Regions from separate parts of the Homo sapiens genome. Here region 1 is linked to region 2. The links are contacts of gene promoters, found by promoter capture Hi-C in blood cells and fetal thymus (Javierre and others, 2016). All regions are on one chromosome and are shown on one strand. Each heading gives the region's core, a stretch centred on a gene start or on the middle of the fragment in contact. The rest is flanking DNA. Distances are from core to core; before and after follow the strand shown.

Region 1 (4,050 bases), core at 1,147-3,646, 1.7 Mb after region 2:
GCTTCTGAGAAAATCAAGGAATGTGGGTAAGAAAAAAATGAGGGGACAGAAAAGAGGGAGTGCAGGTAGATGTCAAAAAAAAAAAAAAAAAAAAAAAAACTAAAGGTTGACCTCAGAAACACAGATATTACAAATGTTCCTTCCTATTTCTCCATTTTATTAATACGAGCAAGTTTCAGGTGTCTACTTCCTATCATTTCATGATCTGGAAAATGGATCTACTCTGCGGGTACAATAAGCTTTAAAAATGACTACGCAGTTACAGAGGGCTTCATCACAAGATCTTATTTATGCACTGAAACTCCAAAAATATCTCACAATAGGAGTAACTGGCGTATTCAACAATTATGTAAATAAATAATAAAAAGTCTCAATCAGGACACCAATATTAACTCCCTAATCACCAATTTTCCCCCTCATTTGATGAGGGTAGGAGTAGAGATGTGCAAAATGGGTGAGGCTGCTAACTATTGAACATTCTCTCCTCCAAAGTTAAGGGCTCTCATGTGAAACTTTATGGGGGCCTCTGTTCAGGTCTTACAGTAAAAGTAAATTGGAGAGAATCATCAAGAAGCCATCAATACTCTTAAAAATACACACATCTGTCCATAGATGGTCTTTTTTTTTTTTTTTTTTTTTTTGAGACGGAGTCTCGCTCTGTCGCCCAGGCCGGACTGCGGACTGCAGTGGCGCAATCTCGGCTCACTGCAAGCTCCGCTTCCCGGGTTCACGCCATTCTCCTGCCTCAGCCTCCCGAGTAGCTGGGACTACAGGCGCCCGCCACCGCGCCCGGCTAATTTTTTGTATTTTTAGTAGAGACGGGGTTTCACCTTGTTAGCCAGGATGGTCTCGATCTCCTGACCTCATGATCCACCCGCCTCGGCCTCCCAAGGTGCTGGGATTACAGGCGTGAGCCACCGCGCCCGGCCCATAGATGGTCTTAATATGTGCCTAGGTATATGAGTCATGCAGATATCTAAGAGGAAGAAACTATTCTGCACTATTCTGGGTGACACGATATCCACAGCTCTGATGACATTGTTCTCTCCACACAGAGAAGAAACTATAAATAGAACCCTAAGCATCATGTTCCACATATCAAAGAAGGAGATACAAACTATTTTTGGAATACAAATAAAGCTTTAGTAACATGAAATAAAACACCTGTCAATAAGAGACATTAATCTATTCTACAAAAATAAGAACTTTTTAAAAAGAAATATGGCCTTTAATCAGAGATGATGTAATGACATATCAAATCAATGTCAACACCCTGAGAAAAGCCATCTCCTACTGCACAATTACCCTGCCATTCTCAGTCGAAGACTGTCCTCTATTAAACATTATCTGGACTTCTTTCCTTTGTTTTATGGAGTGAGTTTATAAACGCTTGTTCTCCGTAACTAGTGATTTCAAGTATTCTGTTTTATCTAAGAAGTACAATGAAGGTCATGAGAAGTCCTCTATTAACACTTTATCTGGACTTGCTGGCACTAGTGTAACTATTTTCTACAACGTTCTATTTCATAACTTTCTAGTACTGCCACAGACATCTTTCTAAAATACAACCTGTTCATAATGCTCTTTTGTAGATAATGGTTCAGTGACTCCTCCCTATCGCCAACTTTAAACCTACCTCCTTGACAAAGCTTATCTGGTGTGCCTGCAGCCTCACCAGATACCTTTCATTCTATTCTCTTCTCTCCCCTCCATGCCTGTCTAGAAGGCCGCCTTCACCTAGTTAACTCCTACTTGTCCTGCAGGAAAACTGGAATGGCTCCACTGGGAAACAGCTGGATCTTCCAAGCTCTATAGGCTGAGTTTTCCAGTACTTCCTTGTATAAACCTATATTATGATACCCACCTTTCAGGTTTGTAAATCTTTACTTTTCTGTACCCCTTCTAGACTATGAACAAGGACCTGATGAAGGGTAGTTACTAAAATGTTGGCTGACTCTAAAGGAGGTGCTAATTGCCTCACACTAAAAAGAGGGTAAGAGGTGACATGGAAAATTTCACATAAAGTTGGTGCCATTGGAACTGGATCTTGAGTGATGAACAGTAGTTTTGAGATGTTCAACAGAAAGAAAGGGCATTCAGATCAACGAGAATCAAATGAACAAAAGAAACATGAAAAATCACGTGTTGCAGGCATGTATGTGTGTGCTGATATGTACATACATCTTTCTAATTACTCTTCTTCTGTGGTGGTGAAGGTGCAATCTATACCACCAATATAAGCCTAATCAGCCCAACTAGGCCACAAACTTATTGGGAAGAAATGGTCATTTCTATGTACCTTCCCCACAGGCAATATATAGACAAATACAACCTATGTGTACCCATCCCTACCCAGCACCATCTAATACATATGGTATAAAGAAATGACACTGAAATAATAATCATAAATACCTATTCATTCAAGGAAAAAAGGTTTCTATTTGGTGAAAAACAGACATTTGAGTTAATCTGTTAAGAGTCCTAGGTAATTAGGAAATTACTGGGGGAAAAGAATCCTATTACTGTAATTCCTTTTAACCAAGATTCTATGCTACAGGATGAAGTAAATAAGCCAGGGAGGTGAGCTGCAACATAAATCAGCCGACTGTCACATGAGTCTCTTTAATATTACAAAATTGAGGGAGAGAAACCATTCAGATTACTACGAAGAAACATTTAAAATGAGCTCATTAAATGCAAATTAAAACAGAAACATTGAATAAGCACTGGGCTACAATTAAAGGCTGCAGAAACAGCAGGTAAGAAACAATTTTCATTGATCAAAGAACTAATAGCTAACAGAATAAAGTATTTTGCATTAAAACTGCTTTCATGAATATGAAGCATTTCGAAGTAAGAACTCTTTTTTTTGCATTTTTCAAAGAAACTTTGGAGGTAGGAATGGATTTACATATCTTAATACAAAGTACTTTCATTGTATCATTTTCAGGCAATGAAACTATGAGGTTTCAAAAAATGCAGACTTCAAAAACATCCTCAGAAATAGGGCCAAAATTGTAAAGGGCAAAGGGTCATTTTAGAGCCTTTGGACCCAAGGAAGAACTATTATATAATTACATAAAATCTTCTATGCAAAACTTTAGTAGAGCCTATTTTTGACACAATTTTACCTCATTATAAACAGAAGCTTTGGGGTACTTAGGCATAGAGCTGGTTTTCATCAACTTATCAAAATGGCAGGGCAAAGAGCAGTACACAGTATATTCAACTAGAAATATAAATTGAGACTTTAAAATTCACTGCACACAAGCTTGAAAACAAATATGCAGATGTGTAGCCAAATGGTGAAGTCGGAATATACATTCCTGATGGCAAGGGACTTTTTCTGTTGTGTTCCCTCGTTTCCCTGGCACCTAGAGCAGTTAAGGGTACATAGCAGGTGCTGGAATCACTGGATCTGCTTTTGCAAAACTAACGCACTATAAGATGAGAATGAGAAGTTTTCTTCTAAATTAATTTGAAAAGTTAAAAGATACTGTTTTTCATCTGTCAAGACGGCAAAAATAAAAAATCTTCGATGGCACATGGGAGGAAATGGGCACTCTTATACACACTGAAAGGGAGGGCAGGGCCACCAAGGACAGTTGTGCAGCTTGTACACTGAAAGGCACTACCCCTAGGGTGAGAGAGAGGTGGGGGACCGGAGATCCAGGAGGCGTTCTGCTAGTGAAAGCTGAGTCAGTCTCAGGAAGGACGTCTTTTGGCAATTTTCAGCCCAGAGGGGCAGGGCAGCTCTTTACTACCATGTTGTATTAGTGGAGGCTTTAGATAGGCTTGTAAAATTGGGCAACTTATTTTGGAAAAATTTTGAAATACCTAGGAAAATGTAAAATCTACAAACTCTTTAACTCAAATTGTCATACGATTTTTATTTTACATCTATGCTTACATGTGCAAGTAAAAAGATATGGCCACAAACACTTCTGACAACAGTTGTCTGTAAACCTAATGAGTGCTTATTTATTGGTAAATATTTTCATAATTAGTGTATCCTATAAAAGACTAGGCAGGAATCGCTGTGGAGTGGAT
Region 2 (4,531 bases), core at 397-2,896:
GGTAAGTGTAAATTTACTTGGTTCCTGCTAAAATACATAGTATCCTCAAGTGGAAATTAAAACACAAGAACAAGCCACAGGTCTCCCGCATGCTGATTATATTTGCTAAGTGTTTTGTGACTTGGACACACGTGTCTGCATTATCAGCTAGCTTAAATTCGGTAGTCATACCAAAGAATACGTAGTACAATGCTGTTTAAAGAAGAGATTTATTTTATTATTTAACTTTTAAAGTCTCTAATATGCCTTCTAAGAAGGGTTCTGGCTCAGAAAATTGCAGAAGAAAATCGAGTAGAGAACTAGAATTACAGAAACCTAAGAAATACTTTTACTGAGCTTTCTTCACACAAGAAAATGCACGGAAATGAATTATACATGGATACCAATTTGTGATTTTTAAAAATTTGTAATTTTTTAAATTAAGATAAAAATTAGTTTATTTTTTTGAATACTTTTTTGTTTTGTTTTACCTCACCCTTTACTAAGCTGTTAGCTTGGTCTGTTGCGCTTACTGCTATATCCTCAGCATCTAGTACAGTTCCTGACACATATATGCACTTAATAAGTATTTGTCAAATGAATATTATTGAGTAAATAAGATGAAGGTCAATTCAGAAATTCAGCACTATCAGGCTATATACATAATACAGACTATTATAAAAAACTAGAATGGAGCAGTTCCTTTTAACGACGGAGAAATGTCAGTAACATACTTTGAGCACAATATAGCTAATTTCACAACTGGTCTTTAAATATAACATACCTATAATCAATTTAATGTTTTTCTTTGTTACCAGAGTTGTTCAAAACGTGCGTTTCACCTATCAAAGCTCAACTAAATGAGGTTTAAGAAATCTGCACATTTGAATGTACTTAATTTTAAAAGATTCTGGTTTTGGATTAACTCTGGATTTCACCCTATGGGAAATTTTGTAAATATTTCCAACTTAAAAAAAAACTGTGAAGCCCCAGCGCTAAGAGTAAACGATGCATTGGAATTTCAACAGGATTTCTGTAACTCTGAAATAATCTTTAGCATTTCTTCTTCCCCCCATCCCCTCAGTGTAGGAGCATTCCAGTCCAAGTTTCTGGGAGATCGCTATCGAATCTTATGACACTGGGGTGAGAAGTTTTGCCGGGTTGAAATGAGGGGGTCACTTTAATAATCTGGAATTCCGGAGACTTTATGTCAAGTCTTAAAAATTCGAGCCTGTGGAAGGCTGCGCTGTCAAGAGACCGGAGTTGCGAGCGTCTGGGTGACGTCCGTCCTCCTGGAAGGTGGGATCCGGGTGGCAGGTCCCTGGGCGGCGACTCCGGCCGGGCTCATAGCGTCGCGCCCGCCCCGCTCATCGGCCCTACCCAGCGTCCCTCCCAGACCGACGACCGCCTGGGAAGCCTCGAGCTCCCAGCCCGCTGCACAGCCCGGCTCCGCTCCACAGTCCCCCACTGCCACCGGCCGGGGCGACACCGGGCGAGCTGGCGAGACCCGGCTCCAGGACCGAATCGCGCCGACACTTGACGGCGCTCCCCGCCCCTCCCTGCCGCCGTCTCCGCCCCCGTCCGGTCGCATTCCGGCGCCCGCCGCCGCCGCCGCCACCGCCGCCGATCTGGGAGGCTTGTCCCTCGCCGCCCACCGTAGCCCCGGCGCTCGGCCGGTCGCCGTTTCCAAGATGGCCGCGGCGCGCACGGCTCCTGCGGCGGGGTAGAGGCGGAGGCGGAGTCGAGTCACTCCCGCACTTCGGGGCTCCGGTGCCCCGCGCCAGGCTGCAGCTTACTGCCCGCCGCGGCCATGCGGGGCTCCGTGCACGGATGAGAGAAGCCGCTGCCGCGCTGGTCCCTCCTCCCGCCTTTGCCGTCACGCCTGCCGCCGCCATGGAGGAGCCGCCGCCACCGCCGCCGCCGCCACCACCGCCACCGGAACCCGAGACCGAGTCAGAACCCGAGTGCTGCTTGGCGGCGAGGTGAGTGTGGCGGCCGCAGTCGGTCGCTCGCAGAAAGCGGGGCGGGTCCTGGCCCGAACTCGGTCGGGCCCGAGGGCCTCTGCTTCCCGCCAGGTGGGGAGGGAAGCATCCAGTCTCTGCAGGCTGGGGCGGGAGGGGCGCGGTGCATCCCTGGGTCCCAGGGGACCGCGTCTGAGTCTGTCCGGCGACTCCTCCCGGGGTTGCAGCTCCGCAGGGTTCCGCTCGAGCGTGTTGCCGGCTCCCCTTCCCTTGTAGACTCCCCCAGCTCACCCTCAACGTTGCGGGGGCTGGGAGCAGAGTGCGGCTGCCTCCCCTGCCGCTAGCTTCGGAAGAGTGGCCTCACTGAAGTGCCTCTCATCATTACTGAACGAAAGTGGTCCCTCCCCTCTGCCCTCATTCGAGTAAAAGAGACATTCGGAAATCGAGTGCGTACTGGCTATTTCCCCGCGTTCTCCTCCTCCTCTCCTTTTGCCCGCTCCAGAGAATGCCTGTCATCTCTTCCGTGAGAAATTGCACTTAGACTATGCAGACAGATACGTTGCTTTCCTGTTCTGAGGGCCCCTTACTGTCCTTTAGTGCTAGTATTGTGCAGATTGTTGCTCACACGTGCACAAAAGTAAGGATTCATTTGTCTAAAACTTTGCTACTGCAGGAAGCTCTAAGGTGGAACTTCGGTAACCAAAGCATTTGTTGCTTTTTCTTCCATACTCTATTAACTTATTTTTATGTCTTTATTTTTTTTTTAATTGAGAGAACAAACTCACCATAACTGAGAATTTCCCTCTTTTTACGTGCCTATGTTTGTATGTTCAAATGTCCTCTTACTCCCTGTCCTTTGCATCCCAGAGTAAACTTGCAAACTGCTGCCCCCTGTCCCCTGTAATGAAAATACCTCGGCAGCTCCTCTTGGCATCTTATGGTCTTGCTCTATGGTTCTAGGAATAAGGCAGTAAAGTGTCCTCTTTTTCCTGCTTAAAGAAAATTCACACCTGTAACTGTAGTTAGAACTGAACACAGGAGCCATATTCTTGCTTGTCATCATTCAGTTGGCCCAAACAAATTTGTTTTATTTTTATAAGCTGTGAAGAAATTAGTTGCCTCTTTTAATTCTGAGATAGTTCTGGGTACTTCTAAGGAACAACTTCTCTGAATAATGGTACAGGGTGTAATGAGAATTCCTTTGGTTCCTTTTGAATACATCTAGTATTTTTAGAAATTTTGTCAGAAAGTTTATTATAAATTTGTTAACGGATCAGTTTTCGAGCAATTTTGATACCTTTTTCTTTAAAATTAATAGTGAACACTTAACGGTTAAAATAGGCCATTGTCTTTATTTCTATTAACCCATTTAATCTTTTCAACAACTCTATGAGGTAGGTCCTGTTATACTCTCTTTTTGACAGATGAGGAAACTGAGGCACACAGTTTAAGTATCTTGTCCAGGGTTTCACAGCTGGTAATGAAGAAAGGTCTGGCTGCACAGCCCATGTCTTTAACCACCATGAAGAATTCATTATCCAAATGGGCGGATCAGAAATTAGAATTCTGTATAACCCTACTCCGGAAAGAAATGGACATGAGCATTCTTAGGTAAAAGCGAGAAGGGCAGAGAAATGAAAATGTGCTGCAAAAATGACTGCTGCTTCAGTGGTAAAAAAAAAAAAAAACTTGACTTTTCAGTCAGGCTTCTGTCTGTGTTATAATAAAAATAGGTCAGGATAATGGGTTTCATCCAACTGTAAGTGAACAGCAGTGTACGGAACAAGAAGATCTCAATATTTTTCTTAGCAACATTGCAGTTAATTTTACAATAGAAAAATCTGTAAAACAGATTACTTGACAAAGCTGTTGTTTTCTCTTTTTTATGTCCTCGTTGTCACCACCTGCTCTTCAATACATAGAACTGACCTCTGACAGAATTACTGTAGATCTTTGGTAAAAGATGTAGGGGGTCTATCCAGTTGTTCATTTGAACTTTTTTTTTTAACCATTTTAGAGGAGCTCAGTGTACGTGTTCAAAATGTGTGAAATGCCACCTCTTTTTTTTTTTTACAATTTTCTTTTTTATTTTATTTTCAATAGTTTTTGGGGTACAGGTGTTTTTTGGTTACATGGATAAGTTCTGTAGTGGTGATTTCTAAGATTTTGGTGCACCTGTCACCCAAGCAATGTACACTGTACCAAATATGTAGTCTATTCCTCACCCCGCTCTGAGCCTTCCCCCGAGTCTTCAAAGTCCATTATATCATTCTTACGCCTTTGCATCCTCCTAGCTTAGCTCTCACTTATAAGTGAATACGATGTTTGGTTTTCCATTCCTGAGTGACTTCACTTAGAGTAATGGCCTCCAGCTCCATCCAAGTTGCTGCAGTTGCCATTATTTCGTTGTTTCATGGCTGAGTAGTAGTCCATGGTGTATATATGCCACATTTTCTTTATCCACTCATTGGTTGATGGGCATTTAGGTTGGTTCCATATTTTTGCAGTTGTGAATTGCGAATTGCTGCTATAAACGTGTGTACATGTGTCTTTTTCATATGATTAGTTGTTTTCCTTTGGGTAGATACTCA

What was found. The method cuts DNA at HindIII sites, captures the fragments that hold promoters and counts their contacts. A CHiCAGO score of 5 or more calls a contact.
Region 1: a contact is called between a fragment that was not itself captured here and the fragment with the promoter of MAP3K4 in region 2, in 1 of 17 cell types (monocytes). The highest score is 7.5, in monocytes.

Annotation. Positions count from the first base shown.
Region 1 is chr6:162,719,821-162,723,870 of GRCh38, forward strand. All of the region lies in intron 1 of PRKN (parkin RBR E3 ubiquitin protein ligase), which reads right to left. Among named protein-coding and RNA genes, the nearest start is that of PRKN, 5.9 kb to the right of the region's middle. The HindIII fragment of the contact is 1,499 bases long and covers 1,648-3,146 here.
Region 2 is chr6:160,990,123-160,994,653 of GRCh38, forward strand. It overlaps MAP3K4 (mitogen-activated protein kinase kinase kinase 4), which reads left to right and starts at 1,647. Exons shown (of 27, transcript NM_005922.4): 1 at 1,647-1,961. The coding sequence starts at 1,810. MAP3K4-AS1 (MAP3K4 antisense RNA 1) reads right to left here and starts at 2,220. Exons shown (of 1, transcript NR_174962.1): 1 at 196-2,220. RefSeq lists enhancers at 1,083-1,142, 1,163-1,232, 1,185-2,054 and silencers at 1,323-1,652, 2,115-2,409, 2,323-2,452. The HindIII fragment of the contact is 10,290 bases long and covers 1-4,531 here.